Linked DNA regions of Homo sapiens: region 2 is linked to region 1. The links are contacts of gene promoters, found by promoter capture Hi-C in blood cells and fetal thymus (Javierre and others, 2016). All regions are on one chromosome and are shown on one strand. The core of a region is centred on a gene start or on the middle of the fragment in contact, and the rest is flanking DNA. Distances in the headings are between cores, read along the strand shown.

What was found. The method cuts DNA at HindIII sites, captures the fragments that hold promoters and counts their contacts. A CHiCAGO score of 5 or more calls a contact.
Region 2: a contact is called between a fragment that was not itself captured here and the fragment with the promoter of PIM1 in region 1, in 2 of 17 cell types (naive B cells and naive CD4 T cells). The highest score is 7.0, in naive B cells.

The regions. Positions count from the first base shown.
Region 1 is chr6:37,167,900-37,172,971 of GRCh38, reverse strand. PIM1 (Pim-1 proto-oncogene, serine/threonine kinase) reads right to left here and starts at 2,820. Exons shown (of 6, transcript NM_002648.4): 1 at 2,315-2,820; 2 at 2,093-2,199; 3 at 1,941-1,991; 4 at 1,481-1,847. The coding sequence starts at 2,396. RefSeq lists silencers at 703-802, 1,992-2,311, 2,572-3,351 and enhancers at 462-1,055, 2,977-3,575. The HindIII fragment of the contact is 5,698 bases long and covers 1-4,526 here.
Region 2 is chr6:36,770,734-36,775,203 of GRCh38, reverse strand. CPNE5 (copine 5) reads left to right here. Exons shown (of 21, transcript NM_020939.2): 10 at 139-243. Among named protein-coding and RNA genes, the nearest start is that of CPNE5, 66 kb to the left of the region's middle. RefSeq lists an enhancer at 2,787-3,286. The HindIII fragment of the contact is 8,826 bases long and covers 1-4,470 here.

The DNA.
Region 1 (5,072 bases), core at 1,571-4,070:
AAAACACACTTTTAGCAAAAACAAGCACAAAGAAGCTGGGTGGTATATATAACTCTTTCTTTTAAAAAAAAAAAAAATCCCTTCTCTCAGGAGCTAGGTGAACTCCATTTTTCCCTCTGGGCTAAGGAGAGTGGAGGCGCACCTTACGGCATCTCTCCAACCCAAAGCATTACCCACCTCTCTGCTAGCCCAAACCATAAACTGAAATTCTTTATGAACTGCTCCAAGAAACAAACACAGCTGGCCGCAGACCCAAAACTTGAGGCCCTGTGAGGCAGGACCGCCTGCGAAGGATGAAGGGATGCATGTCTGCACAACCAAGAAAGGTATCTCATAGACTATCCTTAAATTGCATTCACCACTGCCCAGGAGCCCGGGTGAGATTCTCATGGCCGACAGGATCCAAGCAAGGATGCTTGCACAACATCCTAAGTCAGGGTGCCCTTTGGGAGGCCTTCCTCCCCACCCGATGCAAGCAGGAGCAGACACCCACACCCTTTCCTCCCTAGACTGGAAAGGTAGACAGAGCTGCAGGGTTGGTTTCAGACCACGTGATTCCTGTTTACAAACTTTGGGTAGTAAAAGAAAAAGGAGGGGCCATGCCGCTGGTGCTCACCAGGGGGCAGCAAAGACTTGAAAGAAAAAACATGGGAGGACCCGGCCAGCCATTAACTGTTAAATACAAAAAATGCAGCCCAACCCAGCGTCCTCCAAGGGCAAATAAACATAAACCACAAGCCCGAGTCACAAGTTTTGAAAGGCTGTCGTTTGTTAGGTTAAGCCGCTCAGATGATGACCCACCCTCCGCAGCTTTGATCTCAGGCTCTCCATTCCTTCTTTTCTGAAAGAACCCGCTCCAAGCCCCTCCCTAGGATAGGTTTTCATCCTCTCTGCGGAGACACCCAACTAATTTTCAAACCAGCGACAGATCTTATTTCACAACATTCATTCCTGACTCTCTCTCCCCTTAACACTAAAGAAAAAAAAAAGCCACCAGTAATAATATAGTTCCTATTCCTTAACCTTCCCTAGATCAGAAAGGAGTTAAGAACTGCAGCTCTAAAACTACCATACAGAAAACTAACTCCCTTATAAAATAAAACAAAAATTACAAAACCGGCATCAATTTCCACCTCTTCCCCCGCCCCCATCCTTTTACTGGCGGGGAAACTGGGTCAGACTTTAGAAAAATCTGGGCTACCGCCGGTTGCCCACAACCTCTTATTCATCGGGAAAGCCTGGAACTAACTGAATTCCACTTGAAGAATAAAATCATGCCAGAAACATTACAGGTTCAGCTGGCTGAAAATCCCCGGCTTTACTACGCTGGGAGGCTCTCCTGCGTCCCACCCCGGCTAGCATCGAGCCAGGCGGCCCAATGACCTTTACAAAAGGCTGGCGCGGGAGACTGGCCGAGGCCTCCGGACTGGGCCGGGCCGGGCCGAGTCACCTGGGCAGCTCCCTCCCGGGCCTGGCTCACCATCGAAGTCCGTGTAGACGGTGTCCTTGAGCAGCGCCCCCGACCCGAAGTCGATGAGCTTGAGCTCGCCGCGATTGAGGTCGATAAGGATGTTTTCGTCCTTGATGTCGCGGTGGAGCACCCCGCAGTTGTGGCAGTGCCGCACGGCCTCCAGCACCTGCCAGAAGAAGCTGCGGGCCAGCTCCTCTTGCAGGGCTCCCCTTTCCGTGATGAAGTCGAAGAGATCTTGCACCGGCTCGGGCCTCTCCAGGATCAGGACGAAACTGTCGGGCCTCTCGAACCAGTCCAGGAGCCTAATGACGCCGGAGAAACCCGAGCTCACCTTCTTCAGCAGGACCACTTCCATGGGCACTCGAGTGCCATTAGGCTGCAGGGGCGAGGGGGCCGCGTTAGGGCGGGAGTCGGGGGCGCCCCTCACCCCACCCACTCATCCTGGGGGTCGCTCCTGCAGGGCACTCACCAGCTCTCCCCAGTCGGAAATCCGGTCCTTCTCCACGTGTTTGATGGCCACCTGGAAGCCCAGGGTCTCCGTCAGGTTCCCTCGTCCGGGCTAAAGCACGCCCGTGCGCCCCCCGCCCGGCGCGCCCTCCCCACCGCGGGGCGCCCACTCACCGGCAAGTTGTCGGAGACGCGGATGCCTGAGTAGACCGAGCCGAAGCCGCCGCTGCCCAGTAGCGGGCCCACCTGGTACTGCGACTCCAGGGGCTCCTTCTCCTTGCCTAGGAAAGGGGGAAGCACGGGGACTCAGTGCCGGCCCGCGAGCCGCCAGCTCCCCACCCAGGAGATCCCGCCGCCGCCCCGCATCCCCGGGCCGGAGGCGGGGGGTGCTCTCACCGGGCGCCAGCTTGGTGGCGTGCAGGTCGTTGCAGGGCGCGGCGCGCAGGTGGGCAAGCGAGTTGATTTTGGACAAGAGCATCCCAACCTCCAGGATGTCGGCGCAGGGACGGTGCCCAGAGGAGCTGCCGCAGGAGCCGGAGCCGGGGCTGTGCCGAAGGCTATGCCTGGGGCTGTGGCTGTGGCTGTGGCTGCGGGTGGCGTTGCGGCTGTGGCTGCGGCTGGCGCGGAAGGCCGAGGGCGAGTCGGAGGACAACTGAGGGCGCTGCCGGGACTGGCGGCGGGAGGGCGCGCCAGCGGGGTCGGGCAGCGCTGAGAACGGCGGGGTGAGCGGCTCGTGGGGCTCGTGCGGCAGCGCCGCGGGGCAGGAGGCTAGTGGTTGCTGCTGCTGCTGCTGCTGCTGCTGCTGCCGGTCCCGCCGCCGCCGCTGCCACCGACTCCTCTCGGGCCTCCTCAGCCACCGCGGCCGCTGCAGCAGACGCCCGGCTCGCCCCGCAGCCAGGAGTAAAGGGGAGGAGCGCGCCGGCGGGGAGGGCGCGCGGGGAGGGCGCGGCGGGCGGGGACGGGGCGGGGCCTCTCCGGGAGGCCAAGGCGGGGAGCAGGGCTGCCGGGCCGGCCGAGGGAGGAGAGGGGGTGGGGAAGCGGCGGGACTGGGCGACTCCCCTCGGCCCCCGCCCCGCGCGCTCTGTGGCCGCGCCCCGGCCCCGCCCCTGCCAGCGCTACTCCAGCCAACCAGAGGCCGATTGATCTGCATAACTCGGCGCGCCCCGCCCCCGCCCCGCCCAGCTCTCGCGGTCAGAATGGTCTCTACGCCGCCACGACGTGGCGGGAAGGAAAAGGCGCCAAAATGGAGGGGGAGGGGCGCGGGGCGTGAGGGGAGGCGGGAGCTGGGTGTAGGGCCGCGAGGGAGGAAGGATGGGGAGGGGCGTATCGATTCAAACCCAAACAATAACAAAGCCATCAAAGGCCGCCCGAGGCCGGCTCTGCGGCTCTCCGTTTCGCTGAGGGTTTTGGGTCAAGGGCTCGAGCCGGAGCATAACAAGTTGCGCGGAGACGACGGGCGTTAGTGTGTCAGGCGGGGAGGCCGGCGCGCCGGGTGTCGGACTGTGTGTGGGGATGCCGACGAGGGTGGTCTTTCTGTGTGACTCAGACCCGAGACCTCCAAGTCGGCTGGGGCGGGCTGACGTCGCGCTGTAGGCTGGGGGCGGATTCTGGGGGTTTGTGTGTTGGGGGGCGCGTCGGGGGCGAAGGATCCGCAGGACATGAGTCACGGAGGGAGTGGAGGAGTCAGGCCTGGAACAGAACTGGAGGCGGGAGCCCCGCTCCTGCGGGAAAGGGATGCAGCCCTCAGTCGTTCCGGCCGGCTAAAAGCTCAGCCACGGGATTCCCATTTTAGAAATGCAAAAGCACCAGCGAATCCTGATTTCTGGGAAGGGATGTGTGTCAAAGGGCCGGGTAAAGAGGAAATCACGAAGCAAATGTTAGTGTTGTGATGCCAGATGCTGCCTCAGCCCCTTCTGTGAGGGCGGAAAATTCCTCATCTAAAACGAGGGTGGGAGGGTGCGCTTGATTTAACCAGTTTTCACGTTGTAGTCACCTTTTCATCAGCCTGTTATTACCAGGCAGGCAATACCAGCAATTATTGGCCAACCCCAAGTCTTGTCTCAAAGGAAACCCCCCACCCTCTGCCTCCCTTGGAAATAACCCGGAACACTGACCAATTCCACTTGCATCCTTTGTCCTTTTAAACTTCATGTAGAGTTGATAACGACGTGTGAAATGAGTAAATTAAAATACTATATAATCCATAAATTGAATTGTCAGTGGCCTAAGTAATTGAAAGCTAACTACATTCTATTTTAATTTTTTGAAGTGCCTGCCATTTAAAGGAAAAATCAGGATCCCTATAGCTGTCATTAGTGAATTTAAATGTTTCCTTTGAAAGTTTTCTACAGTGCTTGCTTTATAAAAGTGCCCAGATCCTCCACAACTTTTATGAATTTATCCTACAAAATATTACATATTTTCCTTTTGTTTGTGTACTGTGGCCGAACTCATTCATTTTTTATGACTAGGAGAAAACCCAAGGGAACAAGAATTACTCCCTTTTTGCAGATAGGAAAATGAAACATAAATAGGATGGCACAGGGTCATACAGCAGCTAAGAGAGGAGATGAAATGACCCAAATTCACCTCCTGAGTATTCAAAGCTTTCCGCTTATCAGGGTCTAAAACTGTCCTTGGCACCGAACAAGACATCATTAAACATATGTGATTCCCACTTCCATCCCTTCTACCCTCCCTTTCCTTTCTCAAACCCTCAAATGTAGTCAAACAGAACTATTCCCACTTGTTCCCACTCGCCTAGCACTTTACAGACCCTTTGCCTTTGCGGAAGCAATCAACCTGTCCTGGGAGAGCCCTCTCTACCTCTCCACTTTTATTCAAAGCCTTTCCACTCTTTAGGAAACAATTGTAGTTCTACCACAGATTGATGAACAAACTCAGAGCATTGGTTCACTGTCCACTAATCTGACAGTTGGGATTTGTTTTTTTAAATCCTTTTTGTTCATTTACTTTTCCATTATACTTTGTCTTCCTATTCCTTGAATGCCCTTTTTTTTTTTTTTTTTGAGACGGAATCTCGCCCTGTTACCCAGGCTAGAGTGCAATGGCACTATCTCGGCTCACTGCAACCTCCATCTCCCGGGTTCAAACAATTGGTTCTCCTGCCTCAGCCTCCCAAGTAGCTGGGATT
Region 2 (4,470 bases), core at 1,644-4,143, 400 kb after region 1:
GCAGCTCATCACCTTTTGAAGCCATCATTTCCGTCGTCCAGGAACCAGAGATGTGAACCAGCTGACTCCTCTGTTGACCTGCATTCGCCTCCCTTGGGTTTGGGCCTGACAGCCTTTCCCTCTCTTCTTCTTCACCAGGTTCACCATTTGCCACAAGACCGAGGTCATGAAGAACACCCTAAATCCAGTCTGGCAAACTTTCTCCATTCCCGTGAGAGCCCTCTGCAACGGCGACTACGATCGGTGAGATGAGAAAATGTCCCTTCTTTTTTCCTTCTGCTTCTGGGCCCTCCCCAAGCACAAGTGAGGGTGGCCCCATTCATATTGACGTGGTCAGTCCCATCAGTAGAAATGAGGCCTTCTGGAGTTGTGCAGTAGGGGGTGCCCTGCACAGGCTGGGGCTTGGTGAGCCCCTCCACTCTTTCCCTGCTGCACCCGGCAATGTCTGCCTCTTCACAGCCTCACAGATCCTCTTCTCCCCACCCGCCCCACCTCTTTCCCCTCTGTCTGGCATCCCCACTGGTGGGAAACTCCCAAGGTTAGGGGGATGGGAAGTGCCCAGGATTCCAGGGAAACCCAGATGGGTGTCCCGGGTGCCCAGGCCTGGAGTTCAGCAGCTTGTCTTTTCATTGTTCCCAGTGGAGGAGCAGATGGCAGCAGGGAAGCAGGGTGTTGATGCAGGCAGAGGCAGCTGGTCCCAATTCCTGGCCAACAGACTGGGGAGTCAAGATCCTAGGGATACATCCTGCCAGCCTAGTTGCCATAAACAAACGGGGTAGAGTGCAAAGAGCTTCTGGGATTTCTTTCTCTTTTTTTAGACAGGGTCTCGCTCAGTCACCCAGGCTGGAATGCAGTGACAGTGGCGCCATCACAGCTCACTGCAGCCTGGACCTCCCAGGCTCAAGCGATCCTTCCACCTCTACCTCCTGAATATAGTTGGGACTACAGGCACCTACCACCACGCCCAGCTAATTTTTTATTTTTGTAGAGACTGGTTTCGCTGTGTTGTCCAAGCTGGTATCAAACTCCTGGGCTCAAGCAATGCACCCATCTCTGCCTCCCAAAGTGCTGGGATTACAGGTGTGAACCACCATGCCTGGCAGATTTTTTTTTTTTTTTTAATTGAGATGGGATTTCACTCTTTCACCCAGGCTGGAGTGAAGGGACATTTTCTCATCTCACCGATTTCAGCTTACTGCAGCTTCCACCTCCTGGGCTCAAGCAATCCTCCCACCTCAGCCTCCCGAGTAGCTGGTACCACAACCATGCACCACCACGCCCGGCTAATTTTTTGTGTTTTTGGTGGACATGGGGTTTCACCATGTTGCCCAGGCTAGATTTTTTGTTTTAACATATGCCTACTCTTATTACATGTTGGCTATCATCTTCATCATCATTTGAGTGTAGATTGTTGAGTGTAGATACCAGATACCTGGTTGCTAATTCTGACTCTGTGACCAAAAAGCACTGTCAACCTGGGCAATCCTTGACCTGTCTGAGCCTGAGTTTCCTTATCTGTAAAATGGGTATTAAAATGTCTGCCTACTCTACAGGACTGCATTGACGCTCACACGACACAACCTACACAACGAGGCTCTGTTGTGCCTAAAATACCAAATTCAGCATCTCATCCACAAATGTTTAGGGAACCCCTGTCATGTACCAGGCACTGTGCTAGATGCTGGGAAATCAGCAGGGTGCAGTCTTCACCCTTCACCCAACCTAGTGGTGTTTACATGCCAGTAGGGGAGGCAGACATTAATCCAATAATCACACAAGGAAACATGTAATTATACATTGTAGCAAGCGCCGAGAGAGCGAGTGGGGCCACCACCCAAAATGGGAGCTGTGAGACTGTGTTGGTTTCTGTTGAGTCAGGAGAACCCATCCCTGTCTCCTGGTGATTGCTGCAGCTCAGGTGGGTGAGGTGGTAGGGGGCTCATGGGCAGGGCTCTCTGGACAGCTAAGAAAGCTGGGCCTCTGGGCCACTCCGACAGGAGCACTGGGGTGTCGAAACAGACACCTGGGGTCAGGCGTGGTGGCTCACGCCTGTAATCCCAACACTTTGGGAGGCTGAGATGGGCTTGAATCCAGGAGTTCAAGACCAGCCCGCGTAACATAGTGAGACCCCCATCTTTACAAAAAAAAATTTAAAAATTTAAAACTAAATTTAAAAAAATTAAAACATTAAAAAAAATTATCTGGGTATAGTGGCGCACATCTGTGGACCCAGCTACTCAGGTGGCTGAGGCAAAAGGATCACGTGAGCCCAGGAGTTCAAGGCTGCAATGAGCTATGATTGCACCACTGCACTCCAGCTTGGGATGCTGTCTCAAGAAAAAAAAAAGAAAACCTTAAAGACAAAAAAGAAAACAAACAAACAAAACCAGACACCTTGGGGCAGCTGGGAGCCTGAAAAGGCATGTTGAGGGGATGATCAGCAGATGAATGGCCTCCAGGCACCCCTGTTACACTCCGAAGAAACCCCCAGGCTGCCAGTTTGAGACATGAGCTTGTTCTTTTTCCTGCCTCTTGGCTGGGACAGAAGAGCCACAGTCTGTTCCACAGGTGGTCACTGAGTGCCTCCTGTGTCCCAGCGTGGCGCCTCTAGCTGTGCGGATTTAAACGAACAGGGTCGCCTTCCCATCTTTAGGGAGACTGTGGTCTGACCACAGGCAGCACAGATGTGCACATGTATTTTAGACAGATAAATAAGTGCACAAAATAAGACTGGGAACAAAGACGGTCTTAGCGCTGCAGTCAAACAAGCCTCTGTTACACATCTAGCTGGCTCCTGGGGCTTCTAGAGTGGGTGAGGGGATGAGAGGACAGGCTGGTTGGAGCAGTGAGAGGACGGGCTGGTTGGAGCAGTGAGTTCTAAAGAAGGCCCAGGAAAGGCTGGAAAGTCAGGGGTGGAGGATCCTGGGGACAGGGGCACGGGAATAAAGGGAGATGGAAACAAAGTGAGAGGAAATTCAAGGTAGGGGGATGGGAGAGTATGGCAGTTAAAGTCTCACAGGGCAGAAGGAATTGGGGATCCCTGGCCCAACTGACCCCTCACAACCCTGTATCTCTAGAGAGGAGCTCCCAGGGTTGCAGGAGCCAGCTTTGTCAGGGACAGTGAAAGGGGCAGCAGGGCTCGGAGGCCTGGCTTCACCACTGGGCCGTTGGAGGAGGTGGGTATTTATTTGGTGGGAGGGGCAGGCTCCCACCTCCCACTCTGAGGCAGAGCCTAGCCTCATCTCGCTGCAGGATGGCCCTCCCCCATGTCCAGAAGCAGATCTTCCATAATGTGACTGACAGTAGTGTTAATCAAGGAGGCCAGGGATGTCACTCTGGCTCCAAGAACGATCAGGCCTATCCCCCCGCCCCCCAGCCCCAGTGTAACCCACGCACCCAACAGACACTCAGGAGGTGCCAGTATCAGAAGGCCCTCCAGGGTAGGCAGGGGAGGGCCCTGTGCAGGAAAATGGGGCCACTGTCCCCTCCTTCCAAGACACCTCTTGGAGCCTCACAGAACGTAGTTGATTTAATTCAGCAGCCGTGTCTTCCAAGCCAGTCAGGCCCCAGGCACTGTGTTGGGTGCTGTGGGGGCCTATTGACCCAAGCCTCCCTCTTAGGTTGCTCCCAGGCCAGTGGGGAGACAGACAGGTCATGATAATAGCAAAGACTCCTATAGCACTTAACCATGGGCCAGGCCCTGCTCTAAGTGCTTTATGTATAGGAACTAATTTAATCCCCCCAACAATTAGCTCATTGCAAAGAGGTGCTGATGCTAGCCACATTTTACAGGTAAGGAGACAGAGAGGCCCTGAGAGATTAAGTCACTTGCCCAGTGTCTTGCTGCCAGCCGGTGGTAGAACCAGGATGTGGACCCCGGCAGCCTGGCTCTAGATTCTGTGTTGTTAATCCCTATGCACTGTTGCCAGATAGCCAAGACATGGCATGACAGGGCTGTGACCAGGGTGCATCTGGGGGAGGCTTACTAATGAGCACCTTGCTCAGGGGTTAGGGGCAGTTCTGCTTTCTGATTAGAGGTAGGGAAGCTGCTTGGATTGGTTTTAGTCCTCAAAGCATTAACGTCCTTCTGGCTTTAATACCAAATAATTCAGAGGGGAGAGGAGAGGGGAACAGCAAGAAGGAAGAGGAAGACCCAAAAGGCCTTGGTACCTGCCTGGGTAAGGGAGTGAAAGAGGGGAAGGGATAATGGTTCAGCGTTTGAGGGCAGGAAAAGGTGGCACCACCGACAGAAATGGGCAGTGTGATCGGCAGCCAGATTCTTACTCACAGATTTGTGTTCCGCAGTTCTTTTCACAGCCTATCTGAAACCCATTTTTAAAAAAATTATCCTTCTTAAGTTATAAAGATTATGTTTGTTGTTTGAAAACGAGCTGCTGCTGTTGAGAGGTTGGGGAAAGAGAGGTAAACTTGGTTTCAGCCACATTGAGAGGAGGCAGCTGTGGACCAGGC